5 separate regions of the Homo sapiens genome follow, and regions 2, 3, 4 and 5 are each linked to region 1. Evidence: promoter capture Hi-C in human tissues and cell types (Jung and others, 2019). All regions are on one chromosome and are shown on one strand. The core of a region is centred on a gene start or on the middle of the fragment in contact, and the rest is flanking DNA. Distances in the headings are between cores, read along the strand shown.

Region 1 (2,650 bases), core at 98-2,597:
ATGTGGGCTAGAGCTTCCTTCCCAGGCCAGCTGCAGAGCCCCGTCACTGGCTGTCCTCCCTCATCAGAAGGGAGCAGCCTCTTGGATCATTACCCCTGACTTCCTCAGCAGGCCTGGGGGGTTTCACTCCAGCCCAGTCCTAACTCTGTTAGGAAAAGGAAGGGAACCACCATGTAAATACAGCCAGGAGACAGGCCAGGAAGCCAGCAGGATACGGGGAATCTCGGCACGGCCTCCCACCCATTTCTGGCCAGACTGGGCTAGGGGACAGGGAGGGGCCCGCACCCAGGATAGCTTGATGCCAAGCTCACTTTCCCAAGCAGGCCTTACCGGTGAACAGGAACAGCAGGGTCCAGCCGAGCTGTTCCCAGTCACCACCAGCAGGCCTGGGGATGCCTCCCGAGAAGACACCCGGGTCTAGACTGGCCCTGAACGCCAGGCCCGGCAAGGAGCGCTAGCCTTAGGAACCCGAGGCAGGGAGTCCTGGGAGTAGCCACCGCTCATCTGCTCCTGAGGAGACGGTATTCAGGCCCCACTGGCGCATCTGCCCGGCCCTCTGCTCCTTGCCCTCCACCACCCCGGCAGGCGTACCGACCACGCGAGCAGCAGGTGCAAGACGCGGGGGTGGCACTGAGATGACATAAAACCACACTCGCCCCCACCTCCCAAGCCCTGACGGCCTCCGCCACGGCCCTCCTGCCACCCCAGGCTGGCGCTTCCGTCGGATACAGAGATGGAGGTGGAGGAGCAGCCAGCTGCCCGCCTCCCTCAGACCGAGGAGCGGGAGGCGGCGCCGGGAACGTCCTTCCTCGCTAGTCCACGGCCTCCAGGGAGCATGGGCACCCCAGGCCGGCCCTCCCGCCAAGGGCGCAGCTCCGCAGTGGCCGAGGCGGGGGCCCAGCCTGGAGGCCGCAGCCCCCCGCCCCGCCCAGCCCTCCGGCCCCGCACAGCGCTCTTGCCAGGCCCCGGCGCCCGCCCGGCGGCGGCCTGGCTGTGCGGTCCCGCCCCCGGCCCCGCCGCGCTTACCCGGGGCGCTGCAGTCCGCACACACCTCCGCTCGCGGCCCCTTTCGGGACATCCTCAGCGGCGACGCGGCCGCAGCCCTCTGGGCCAGCGTGGGGGGCGCGGGCGGCGGGCCCGGGCGGCGGCGGCGGCCCCTGCTGCCCGGCCCGGCTCCGGCGAGGCCCCGGCGAGGCTCCGCGCGCCCGGCCAACCGTCCGCCCCGGGGCTGGCCCGGAACCCGCCGTGCCCGCCTGCCCGCTCGCCCTCGGGCGCCCTCCGCCCCGCGCCGCCCCGCCGCCGCTCGCGGCTCCTCTCTCCGCCCCCTGCGCGGCTCCCGGCCGCTTCTGCAGGAAGCGGCGCAGGCCCTGCCCACAGGGGGAGGGGCCGCACCCCCGCCCCGCCGCGCGCTGCCGGCCGCGCCCCCTAGAGAAAGGAAGCCCGGGCGCGGGCAGGAGGGGGCGGGGGCGCTTAAAGGGGCCGCGGCAGATGCCCGGCCCCGGCGGGCAGCGTGGCCTGCGGCCCTGGCCTCCGCTGCAGCGCTCGCCTGGCCCGGAGGCAATGTGAGTCACCCTCACAGCCCCCTCCCCTTCACTTTCCGCGTGGGGTGGACCGGGGGACGCTGGGCCCACGGACGGCGAGGGTGGGGATTAGGGAAGAAGGACTTGGAGGCCCAAGTCCCGCTCCAGGTCAAAGGGGCTGTGCCTTGGGGTACCCGTCTATCTCTGGTTGGGGTGAGGTGTGCGTCCCTGTCCCGTAGGTGTCCACATCTGTGTGTCCAGGGGTGTGTGTGTATGTGTCACACTCTTGCTGAATACGCCCACTGCTAACAATATGGACGCCCAGGTGCCAGAAAGGTCAGGCAGTGTATTCCCCTGCCTCCGGACTAAAAATATATCTATCTCTCCATGCATCCTTCCATCCAGAGAGGAGAGAATCTGGGCGGTTTTTAAAGACCTCCCGAGGAGTGACCACTGTGCCTGTGTGCACTCACATCCACTTGTCATCCGCCTTACACACACCCACGGTGTTTCTGGGCCACCAGAGGTGTGTGTGTCCAGAAAGGGTGCATATAACATAGAGGGGCCGTTTCAGGTGACGGCCTTTCTTCCTGGACTTCACACGACGAGGCAGGCAAAGGCAAGGCAGGTGAGGGACGTGGGTGGGCTGGGGGGCAGGGAGCCTAGGTAGAGGCCGCACATGAGCGCAGCCCCCGCACTGAGCATGCGCCCCCATACGCGTGTGCCGCGCGTGTACCCAACCCCCAATCCCTGCAGCAGCAAAAGGCCCGGGCACTCTGCTTGTGGGGAGAGGGTAGAGGTCCCCAGGGCCAGACCTGGGGGCCAGGTCAGTGGTGACAATTGAGGAGGGGTTCTCCAAGAGTCAGAGACTCCTGCTTGTTAAGATGGGGGCAGTCCTTTGGCAGGGGTGCTCAAGTTGGTCGATTATCCCAACGGTGCCAGAGCGGCAGTGATTTGTGGGTGGGCAGGCTCCTTCCCTAGGGGAGACAAGTAATGCTCATGAGTCACACCACCCGAAATACATGCAAAGCTGCCTCCATCGCCTTTTGCTGCGGCCCAGATTGACAAGTTTGTTTGAAATCGCGATCCATGGGCTTTATTTATAATTGCACCTTAAAAAAATCTTGCAG
Region 2 (2,650 bases), core at 82-2,581, 240 kb after region 1:
AGCTGCTCCAGTCTGAGCCAGTTTAATTAGTTCAAGATAGAGATGTAGAACCAGACTAGTGGAAACCACAAATGGGAAAGGAAATGAAGCAGTAGTGCTTTAATGCATGACAATGAGAGATGGAGGCTGATCATAAGTCCTGGGCATAACTTTGCATAGTAGAATTTAAATTATTACTACACAGCAACATTACATTTGATTAACGTGCCAGTGGATTTTAATTTTTACTTGTTATATGGAGCTCATAACAGGATAAGCCATAAATTCTGGGTGCCAGAATTGTTTGATATAGTCGTGGCTGCTTTGCAGCTCACCTTTAAGGCATCTAGCAGACCCGGGTGAGGGTCTGCTACTGTTAAAGAAATTTGAGAAGGAAAAAAGCAGTTACATGTAGAAAGAAACCTCCCCCAAAGGACATTGAACACGTCTGCAGACATAACCTATACGCTACTCAGTTCCAAGGCTCTTCACAGTAGCCTGCAGAGATTCAGACTTAAATTGAGGAGGGGAAAGGTAAAAGGATGTGTGTGATAAAAACCTCTTTCTCTCCTGTATTAACTTAGGGCAAATACAGTATTTCCTATATTTTCATCTTTAAGATTACAAATAAGAGACGCTAATCTAGATGTAAGACTCCAAAGAATCCCAGCTTATTTTTAAGTCTAAAGTGAATTTTAAAAATTTTCACTGTAAGATACCAATAAAACAACTTTGACACTTCTTGCCATCTCACTACCAGAATGCAACTGTTTATCTTTTTTTTTTTTTTTTTTTAAGATGGAGTCTTGCTCTTGTTGCTCAAGTGCAATGGTGCGATTTCGGCTCACTGCAACCTCTGCCTCCTGGGTTCAAGTGATTCTTCTGCTTCAGCCTCCTGAATAGCTGGGATTACAGGCATGTGCCACCACGCCCAGCTAAGTTTTTTTTTTTTGTATTTGTGGTAGAGACGGGGTTTCGCCATGTTGGCGAGGCTGTCTCCAACTCCTGGCCTCAGGTGATCTACCAGCCTCGGCCTCCCAAAGTGCTGAGATTACAGGTGTAAGCCACTGTGCTCAGCTGCAACTGTTTATACTTAAGGCCTCTTGTGTGTTTTCATTCTTCTTTTGTTATTTATTTATATATAGTTTTTATGTAGTTGTAATCAGAGCGTATATGTAAGTTTTGCTCATTTTTCAAATTTGGCAAGGAATGGACTATTCTCTTCTTGTGCCGCAACTGTACCTATTATACACATTTTCTCTATTACTGTACTTACCACACTGTATTTCAATCATTTTACTTATAAATCTGTCTTTCTAGGCTTTGAGCATTTGAGGATAAAAGCTATCTTCTGTTTTTTTTGACATGGGGTCTCGCTCTGTTGCCCAGGTGAGGGTGCAGTGGTGCTATCACAGCTCATTGCAGCCTTGAATTCCTGGACTCAAGGGATCCTCCCACCTTAGCCTCCTGAGTAGCTGGAATCACCATACCCAGCTAATTTTTTAAATTTCTGGTAGAGATGGAGTCTCCCTATGCTGCTTAGGCTGATCTTGAAGTCCTGCACCCAAGTGATCCTCCTGCCTTGGCCTCCCAAAGTGCTGGGATTATAGGCGTGAGCCTGGCCCTGTTTTTCCTTTAAGTAATGTTTGAATAAATGAATGATGGCTATAAAATTTTGTTCTACCCATTTGTTTCAAGAAATTTTAAAATTTCTTTCTTAACTGCTTCATTGACCTGCTGGTCATTCAGGAGCATACTGTTTAATTTCCATGTATTTATATAGTTTCCACAGGTCCTCTTGTTACTGATTTCTAGTTTTATTCCATTGTGGTCAGAGAAGATACTTGATTTCAATTTTTTTTGGTTTTCCAGTTTTTTCTTTTCTTTTTTTGAGACAGTCTTACCCTACTGCCCAGGCTGGAGTACAGTGGCATGATCTCAGCTCACTGCAACTTCCCCCAGGTTCAAGCGATCCTTGTGCCTCAGCCTCCCGAGCAGCTGGGATCACAGGTGTGCACCACCACACCCAGATAATTTTTGTGTTTTTAGTAGAGACAGAGTTTTACCATGTTGGCCAGGCTGGTCTTGAACTCCTGGCCTCAGGTGATCCACCTGCCTCGGCCTCCCAAAGTGCTGGGATTACAGGTGTAAGCCACAGAGCCCAGCCATTTTTTTCTTTTACTTTGTTAAGACTGGTTTTGTGGTCTAACATATGGTCTGTTCTTGAGAATGCTCCATATGCTGAGAAAAAATGTGTATTCTGTAGCCATTGGAAGAAATGTTCTGTAAATATCTATTAGTTCCATTTGGTCTATAGTGCAGATTAGGTCTGCTGTTTCTTTGATTTTCTGTCTGGATGATCTTTCCAATATTGAAAGTGGAATGATGAAGTATCCAACTATTATTGTATTGGGGTTCATCTCTCTCTTTCACTCTAATAATATTTGCTTTATATATCTGAGTGCTCCAATGTTGGGTGCATATATATTTACAATTGTTATATCCTCTTGCTGAATTAATTCCTTTATCATTATATAATAGTCCTCTTTGTCTCTATAGTTTTTGTCTTGAAATCTATTTTATCTGATATAAGTATAGCTACCCTTGCTCTTTTTTGGTTTCCATTGGCATGGAATATCTTTTTCCATTCCTTTATCTTTAGTCTATATGT
Region 3 (2,650 bases), core at 89-2,588, 200 kb before region 1:
CATACATACACTGTATACACGGATTGCTTAGGTCTGATCAACATGCTCCTTCCTTGGAGCACAGATCTACTATGGCCAGCCTGGTCTCGAACTCCTGACCTCAGGTGATCCGCCCGTCTCAGCCTCCCAAAGTGCTATAATTACAGGCGTGAGCCACCGGGCCCGGCCCAGAGTTAATTTTTATTCATGAAACTCATATAACAGGTTTATTTATTTCAGTCGTTTTGTTGGTTAAAGAACCAAGATTTTTTATGACTACACTTTGTGTACACTTTTAGGTTCTCTCTTTTTTTTTTTTTTTTTTGAGACGAGTCTCATTCTGTCGCCCAGGCTGGAGTGCAGTGGCGCAATCTCGGCTCACTGCAACCTCCGCCTCCCGGGTTCACGCCATTCTCCTGCCTCAGCCTCCCGAGTAGCTAGCTGGGACTACAGGCGCCCACCACCACGCCCGGCTAATTTTTTTCTATCTTTTAATAGAGACGGGGTTTCACCGTGTTAGCCAGGATGCTCTCGATCTCCTGACCTCGTGATCCGCCCGCCTCGGCCTCCCAAAGTGCTGGGATTACAGGCGTGAGCCACCGCGCCCGGCCTTACACTTTTAGGTTCTTGAATAAGTACTGAGGGAGTTTTCCCTAAAAAAAAAAAAAAAAGTTTTGAGATAAAAGAATAAAAACTCTACTTCTTCTTTGCATAGGAGTCTTTAGTTTGTTTGCTGCTCTTGTTCCAAAACTTCTCATTACTCAACCTACTAAACCCACAGACACTTTTCAAGAAGTTATCTCTTTTCTACATCACCAATATATAGGGTGGCTTAGATCTGTATTTCCAAGTCTTACTGTCGTTCCAAGAATTAGTATCAACTATTAGAATCTCAAAAACTCAACTGCATACTGATTGCGCTGCCCAGTGTACCTCTGAATCCCACGGGGGAGGGGGTGTAGAACCGAGTTGTGCAGGAATGGGATATTCCACACTTCAGGGCAAACTTATTCGCAGGATCAGTGGCGGGCTTTGGAGGTGGGAAGCAGGAAGGAAGGGGAATGCAGATAAACTCTTCTTCTTCAGATCTCCGGGGTGAAATGAATGCACCTGACGCCCGCGTGGCATTAGAAGCTCCGCGAACTCAGTGAGGCCATGCTGGACAGAGGCTGGAACTCCGGGCCACCGGGACAACTCTGCCCGTAGCAAGCCTTGCGCGCTCCTGTGAGGGCGCGCGCGCGCGCATGTAGTCGTGTCTCGCGCAGGGTCCGGCCTGTCAGGCGGAAAATCTCGCGAGATCGGAGACGGGGGATGACGGTCTGGAGGAGGGGAGTGGTGTCGGGTAAAGGGGGGGAAGCTGGGCAGCGGCCGGGCTCTGTGGCTTCAGGGCTCGGGGAGAGAGAGGGAGGGTGGCAAAGAGACTGAGTCGGTGCCGCCGCCTGCCTGAGGAGAGAGGAGGGGTCCCGCTCGCCCTGCGCCCTTCGCGGGCCGAAAGCACTAGGCACTCGCGAACATCTGAGGCCTCCCGGCCCCGGGGGACCCCGCCCCGCCGTCCGCCGGCCGGCCCGCGGCCTCTCTTCCCTTTGTGAGCGCCTCCTTACCAGGGGTGGTGTTGGTGGCGGAGGGCTGCGCGTGGGCCCGCCCGCCGAGGGGCCGCGGCGGGGGACCGAGAGGGCCTCGGCTGTGTGAGGACTAGAGGCGGCCGAGGCCCGGGCCGGTTCCCCCGAGGCGGCGACGGAGACGGCTCCCGGCACTTCCCCGCGCCATCTTAACTGAGCCCAAGCGCTGAGGGCGCCTCCTCGACCCCGGTCGTCCCCTCGCCCCCCCCCCCACCCCCCGCCGCCGCCGCCCCTTGTTGCAGAGCTTGGGCTGGGCGGCTTGCTGGGGCTCGGGGGTGGGGGGCGGCGATCTGTCGCCGGGCCCCCTCCTCCTCCTCACTCCTCACCCTCCAGGGTAGCGGCTACCGGAGCGCTGCAGGGGGCTGCGCCTGCCTGCTCCGCCCCAGACCTGTCGGCGAAAGGGTAAGGGCACCTCTGCTTTGGGAAAGGGGGATATAGAGGGGGGCGGGGAAATTCGGCCCACTCGGGCCTGTGTGTGGAAGAAGGGATGTGGGAGTGGGGTGGGGGAGGGAGAAAAGGAGGGTCTGTGATTCTGTGGGTGGGGTGAAGAAGCTGGTGAGCTGGGCGCCCTCCGGTTTTAAGGGGCGAGAGCAATTCCATTCCTTTTTCCTGAGGGTCACCGGAAGGGGTGGTGGAAGGGGGATGTTTCGAGGAAGGTGTGGCCCTCACAGGGAGACTGGGTTGATGTGCACCCCGGTTTAAAGGCGCGAGGTCCCCTTCCCCTCTGGTGCCTTTGCTCCTCTTCTCCTTTGTAGTGTCTGTGTATTCTTGGGAAGGGAGACTGCTCTGGGTGGCTTGCTGGGTGGATTCCACCCCCTAGCACAGGAAATCTATACCCCTCTTCTGTAGGGGCGATGGAAGCGTTTCTCTCCCCGTACCCTTCCCCCTTCCCCATCCTCTAGTCTACTGCAATGCTGCAGAAGTCCAAGGCAGTTTCTTCATACACAGACCCATGTATACACAGAAGGGAGGGGGAGCAGGAGAGGGAAGTAATGGCGCTTCCCTTGAAAAGGTTACTCTTTTTCCTTTGGTTTTAAATCGACGACAGTATC
Region 4 (2,650 bases), core at 48-2,547, 180 kb after region 1:
ACCAACACTTAGAATTACAGAGTAATGCAACATTCTGTCTCCTGTTAATCTGTAAAACACTAGGACAAAACTCTCAAGATAATATCTGAATTTTCACCAAGAGGTATCTTACTACACTTAGTCAATGGCATTCTTTATATAATACAATAAACCAAACTTTGTAAACAAAGGCACTTAAAAGCAATCATGTTTTGCAATCACCATGTGGCTAATTTTTAAAAAAAGAATATCTGACCATAGTTTTAAACACTGGATTAAGCAATGTCACTGAACCTTTATAGTCTTTTCCATGGAACTTTTCCTCCATAAGAGCAATGGAAAACACTGAAAAGATCTGCCTATCAACTCTAGGAGAGGTGATCTCTAAGGCATTCATCCCCCCATAGTCTTAAACACCATATGCTCCTGTAGGAAGAGATGCTGAAATGCTGCTTTCTTCAGGTTACAAAAGCCCCAAACTCTATTGTTTAGTAAAAATAATAGGTATTTACAGATCACTTTTCACATCAAACACACTTTACAAAACATTTAACCATTTAGTCCCCACTTTATCTCTTTAAACGTTTTCTTTTTTCTTTTTTTTTTTTAGACCTCTCAGGGATGAAACATTTTATTTTTTAAACTAGTTTTTTTTTTAAATAACATTAACACATGCTGAATGCTTAAATCTTTTTAGAATTCAGAAAGGTAAAATGAAAGTCACCATTCTCATTCTCATCATCTTACTCCCAGAGATGATTGTTATTAATATTTCCAGAAATTTTGCTTGTATATGCAAACAGCAATATATTGTAGCTGCTCTTTAAGAAGCATACATGCACACACACGCACACACACACACACACACACAGAATTATACATATTATTCTACTTGCATTTCCCCCTACTTATCACTATACCTTAGACATTTTTCCATGTTATTGTAAGTCTCCCTCATTCTTTTAAAGGAGTATAAGGCATTTTATTGTACAATCATATATAATCTATTTAAATAGTCCTTTACTTATGGGCATTTAAGTTGTTTCCAGTCTTTACTATTATATACAATATCACTATGAACATGTGTTTGTATAATTTTTGTTCATGTCATGACAGGGATATTGAAAAAAATATTTGTGCATACATGTGAATATACTTGTTGGATCAACACCTAGAGGTGGAATTGGCAGTTTGAAATATTTTAAACATCTTAGGACCTGGTAGATATTATCAAACTGCCTACCTAAAGAGTTTAGTTTTTTATTTTCCTGTGCATTATTAGTGTCTCCTGCTACTCCATGATCTATTAAATTAACTCAGGGCCCAAGATGCTCTTCTATACCCTGTCTTTTACACATTACATTAAAAGCTAAAAATATATATATTAGAAAAGTAAAATATGTTTATGGGAATAAAGTAGAAAATTTATAAAGAAAAATATTATGAGGAACTATATTATGGATTATTTTTTCCAAAGAACTACTTAGACTATAACAAGATAAATGTAAATTTTTTTTTTTTTTTTTTTTTGAGACAGGGTCTCGCTCTGTCATCCAGACTGGAGTGCAGTGGCACAATCACAGCTCACTGCACTCTTAACCGCCTGGGCTCAAGCAGTTCTCCTGGCTCAACTTCCAAGTAGCTGGGACTGCAGGCATGTAACACCACACCTGTCGAGACGAAGTCTTGCCATGTTGCCCAGGCTGGTTTCAAACTTCTGGGCTCAAGCGATCCTCCTGCCTTGGCCTCCCAAAGTGTGGAGACTACAGGTATGAATCATCATGCCTGGCTGGTAAATGTAATTATTAAGCTACTTTGAAGATAATACAATTTTAAATTCAGAAAATTTTAAAATTATTTACTTCTAATTTAGGAATATATTGGAGCTTTTCTATAAATTCAGAAGATATTTTGAGATCTGTTCAATGATAATGCTGTAGAACTTATTAACATTATAGGTGAATGAACCTAATGTGGCCTAATACCATCAGTGTCCTAGAATGTAGTAAGACAGAGATAGAAAAATGGGAAGTGATTTTGGGAGTAACAAAGAATGGAGGCTAAAAGAGCCAAGAAGGTTTTGAAAATAAAATAACTGAAATTTTTGAGCTGACATTCAGTGTGTGTCAGGTGCTCTATTAAGAGTTTACATGGCCAGGTGTGGTGGCTCACACCTGTAATCCTAGCACTTTGGGAGGCAGAGGCAGGAGGATCCCTTGACTCCAGGAATTCGAGACCAGCCTAGGCAACATAGGGAGACCCTATCTCTGTAAAAAATAAAAAATAATAAAAAAATAGAGTTTACATGCACTATCTCAATTCTTATAAACAATCCTATGATTCTATTATTATCTCTATGAGGCTCAGAGAGGTTAAATAATTTGCCTAAGCTTATACAGCAGTATTTCAAATCCAGCCAGTTATTCTGGCTCCAGAACCTTCTTTCTTAAACAGTATTCTATATTGTCTCCATGATGATGGAGGTTCATTACAGGTTTAAACTGAAAAGGTCTATTGCCAACAGGGAGAAAGAACTCTTGGGGACCTTAAATACCTACCTGACTGCATCTGGTATTTTCTTCTCTACTTGATCCTACTTATGCCTAGCAGGTTCTGACAATAATAGGGACATAACCTGGTACTAAATATAGCAGTAAGATGATCTTTTGGC
Region 5 (2,650 bases), core at 90-2,589, 160 kb after region 1:
TGTTGCCTGTGGGGATTTCACATTGTGCTCACAGTCACTGGTACTGATTCAATAACAATGGCCTTGCAAAATTGGCAACCTTCCTAAATAAACTATGTAAAATCTGCAAACACTGGTTACTGTGCTATGTGCCTAGTAGATACTCCGGATGCTCTGCCCATATGATATACCCAAAGTATGCTCAAAGTAATTTTCTTTTCGTTTTTCTTTTTTTTTTTTTGAAACAGAGTCTTTTTCTGTCACCTAGGCTGGAGTGCAGTGGCAGGATCTCAGCTCACTGCAACCTCTGCCTCCTGGGTTCAAGCGATTCTCATGCTTCAGCCTCCCGAGTAGCGGGGATTACAGGCGCCCATCACCACACCCGGCTAATTTTTGTATTTTTAGTAGAGACGGGGTTTCACCATGTTGGCCAGGCTGGTCTTGAACTCCTGAACTCAAGTGACCCGCCTGCCTCGGCCTCTGAAAGTGCTGGGATTACAGGCGTGAGCCACCGCACCCAGCTACAATGATACCCTTCTGTTCTCTGAATTTCTAAAGCACAAATTGTACTGTTCATCTGACACTTACCATGCAATAAATTGTGCTCTTATTTATCCCTTCATTGACGTCTTATTTCCTCAACAAACTGAGTATCCTGTCTTCAGGAACCATGTCTTGTACTTCTTTTTTATCTCTTACTTCTTACACAGAATAGATGCAATTTAGGATAATGATGGAAATGACAGAATGTTTACCATCATGCTAGTGTGCCACTCTAATTATTTCTCCTATAATTTGGCTCATATCAAAAGAGCAAAATGAGCAAAAATTTAAGCTACCATATCGTATTTAATCCTCATAGGTATTATAAGTTCCATTTTACTGATGAGGAAAAAGGTTTAGGGTGATTATATAATATGTTCAAAGTCACACAGATAATAAATGATGAACTCTGGAGCTCAGGTCCATTTCATTTCAAACACTGCACTATTACTGTTAGGTACAATAACAAATGGCAAGTAGTTATTCTGAATATGTGACCCAATAAATCTTTTAAGAGTTTTTAAAGAGAATGTTTAAGGAACGGGATACTTTAAGAATTAAGTGTGAGATTTTATTGAGGAGGGAAGGGCATCACAGAGGTAGGATTAACACAATGATAGATATCAAGTCTGTTCAAAGGGACTTCAAAGAGGTTCAGTTTTATTTGTTGTTTGAATCCATTTATTTCACTCATCTCTTAGGAAGAGAGATTTACATTGAGAATTCACATCCTGCCACAGAAACCCCAACTTTTCAAACTAAAGCTCCCCCTAAAAATAGATGAGGCCAGGTGCAATGTCTCATGCCTGTAATCCTAGCACTTTGGGAGGCTGAGGTAGGCAGATCACCTGAGGTCAGGAGTTCAACACCAGCTTTGCCAACATAGCGAAACTCCGCCTCTACTAAAAAAAAACAAAAATTAGCCGGGTGTGGTGGTGGACGCCTGTAATCCCAGCTACTAGGGAGGCTGAGGCAGGAGAATCCCTTGAACCCGGGAGGCGGAGGTTGCAGTGAGCCAAGATCATACCACTGCACTCCAGCCTGGGCGACAGAGTGAGACTCTGTCTCAAAAAAAAAAAAAAAAAAAAAAAAAGGAAAAAAGAGAGATGATACAATTATGGGAAATTAAAACTTTTGATGTTCATGAGAACTGTGTATATTAACATTAAGAGAAAGAGTAACTTAAAAGGGACGTGGGTCAGAGGAGAGTCCTGAAGAAATGGCATCTCCCAAGAGCTCTGTTGTAAGTGATATTTATTTAAAATCAGAGGAAAAAAACTCTCATTCAATTTAGCCCTCATGGAGACTAACTGGTTTTTATGACACAAAATTCAGAGAACAGCAGAGACAAAAATGCACCAATAAGATGCCAAGCTCATAAACCTGACCAGCTTTTTGCTGGGGTGATGAAGTATGCTTAAAGTGTTGCTTAAGTTGCAAACAGATAAAGCCATATGTAGCATAAACTTTTCCGCAGTCACTACAGAAGACAATCAATATAAAGTCCACAATTAGAACGCTCAGGACTTGAAATATCCTGTTATGGATCACGAATATCCATGTAAATTTTGATGGATAAATATTAAGTACAGATGATAAAAGTAACAACCATAACTGGAATTTTTATTGTTATTTCTTGTGAATAATTATCTCACGTGATATCCAAAATGTCCTGAAATGAGGCAGGTACCATCCTCAAACAAACATATACAACAATTTAAATAGTTTAGTTCATTACCAAAAAAAATCAAATAATTCTACTTCTTCTACCCTGGAAACCTAAATTGTTACAACTTTTAAAGAAAGCTTATAATTGGCTAATACTGAGGCTTCTCTTTATTTAGGAGTGATTCAAACCTCTGGATTTTGTAGCTTTACCAAGTGTAACTAAGCCAAATCCCTCGAATTACTAAAAGAGGGGTTATACCCCTCTAAAAATAGATTAATGCAGAAAACACAAGTTGTTAAATTCACACAACATGCAAAAAGGGTGAGCCCAGATTTGCCCTTTGGTGTGCAACAAGAACAATCTATTTATAAATTACTGGCTACACCCTTTCCAAATTACAGGAACACCTAAAAAGGCCTTGATGTTCTTAGCATATTTCTTTAAGGTAAACTTAATTAT

What was found. The method cuts DNA at HindIII sites, captures the fragments that hold promoters and counts their contacts. A contact is called where the count stands out against the background at its distance.
Region 2: a contact is called between a fragment that was not itself captured here and the fragment with the promoter of GIT1 in region 1, in 1 of the 25 tissues and cell types used here (spleen).
Region 3: the fragment with the promoter of TAOK1 here is called in contact with the fragment with the promoter of GIT1 in region 1 in 2 of the 25 tissues and cell types used here (IMR-90 fibroblasts and dorsolateral prefrontal cortex).
Region 4: a contact is called between a fragment that was not itself captured here and the fragment with the promoter of GIT1 in region 1, in 3 of the 25 tissues and cell types used here (lymphoblastoid cells, spleen and thymus).
Region 5: a fragment that was not itself captured here is called in contact with the fragment with the promoter of GIT1 in region 1 in 1 of the 25 tissues and cell types used here (lymphoblastoid cells).

What each region holds. Positions count from the first base shown.
Region 1 is chr17:29,588,301-29,590,950 of GRCh38, forward strand. It overlaps GIT1 (GIT ArfGAP 1), which reads right to left and starts at 1,348. Exons shown (of 20, transcript NM_014030.4): 1 at 1,027-1,348. The coding sequence starts at 1,078. RefSeq lists enhancers at 1-529, 1,429-2,328 and silencers at 747-936, 1,197-1,676. The HindIII fragment of the contact is 8,209 bases long and covers 1-2,650 here.
Region 2 is chr17:29,830,821-29,833,470 of GRCh38, forward strand. The region is part of intron 2 of SSH2 (slingshot protein phosphatase 2); the gene reads right to left. The region is part of intron 1 of LOC124900390 (a long non-coding RNA gene); the gene reads right to left. Among named protein-coding and RNA genes, the nearest start is that of SSH2, 98 kb to the right of the region's middle. The HindIII fragment of the contact is 5,151 bases long and covers 1-2,650 here.
Region 3 is chr17:29,389,025-29,391,674 of GRCh38, forward strand. It overlaps TAOK1 (TAO kinase 1), which reads left to right and starts at 1,339. Exons shown (of 20, transcript NM_020791.4): 1 at 1,339-2,000. It overlaps MIR4523 (microRNA 4523), which reads left to right and starts at 1,638; the gene lies at 1,638-1,706. RefSeq lists enhancers at 895-1,134, 1,255-1,344, 2,505-2,650 and a silencer at 1,385-1,854. The HindIII fragment of the contact is 18,861 bases long and covers 1-2,650 here.
Region 4 is chr17:29,766,802-29,769,451 of GRCh38, forward strand. The region is part of intron 3 of SSH2 (slingshot protein phosphatase 2); the gene reads right to left. Among named protein-coding and RNA genes, the nearest start is that of SSH2-AS1, 130 kb to the left of the region's middle. The HindIII fragment of the contact is 5,686 bases long and covers 1-2,650 here.
Region 5 is chr17:29,744,958-29,747,607 of GRCh38, forward strand. The region is part of intron 3 of SSH2 (slingshot protein phosphatase 2); the gene reads right to left. Among named protein-coding and RNA genes, the nearest start is that of SSH2-AS1, 110 kb to the left of the region's middle. The HindIII fragment of the contact is 3,441 bases long and covers 1-2,650 here.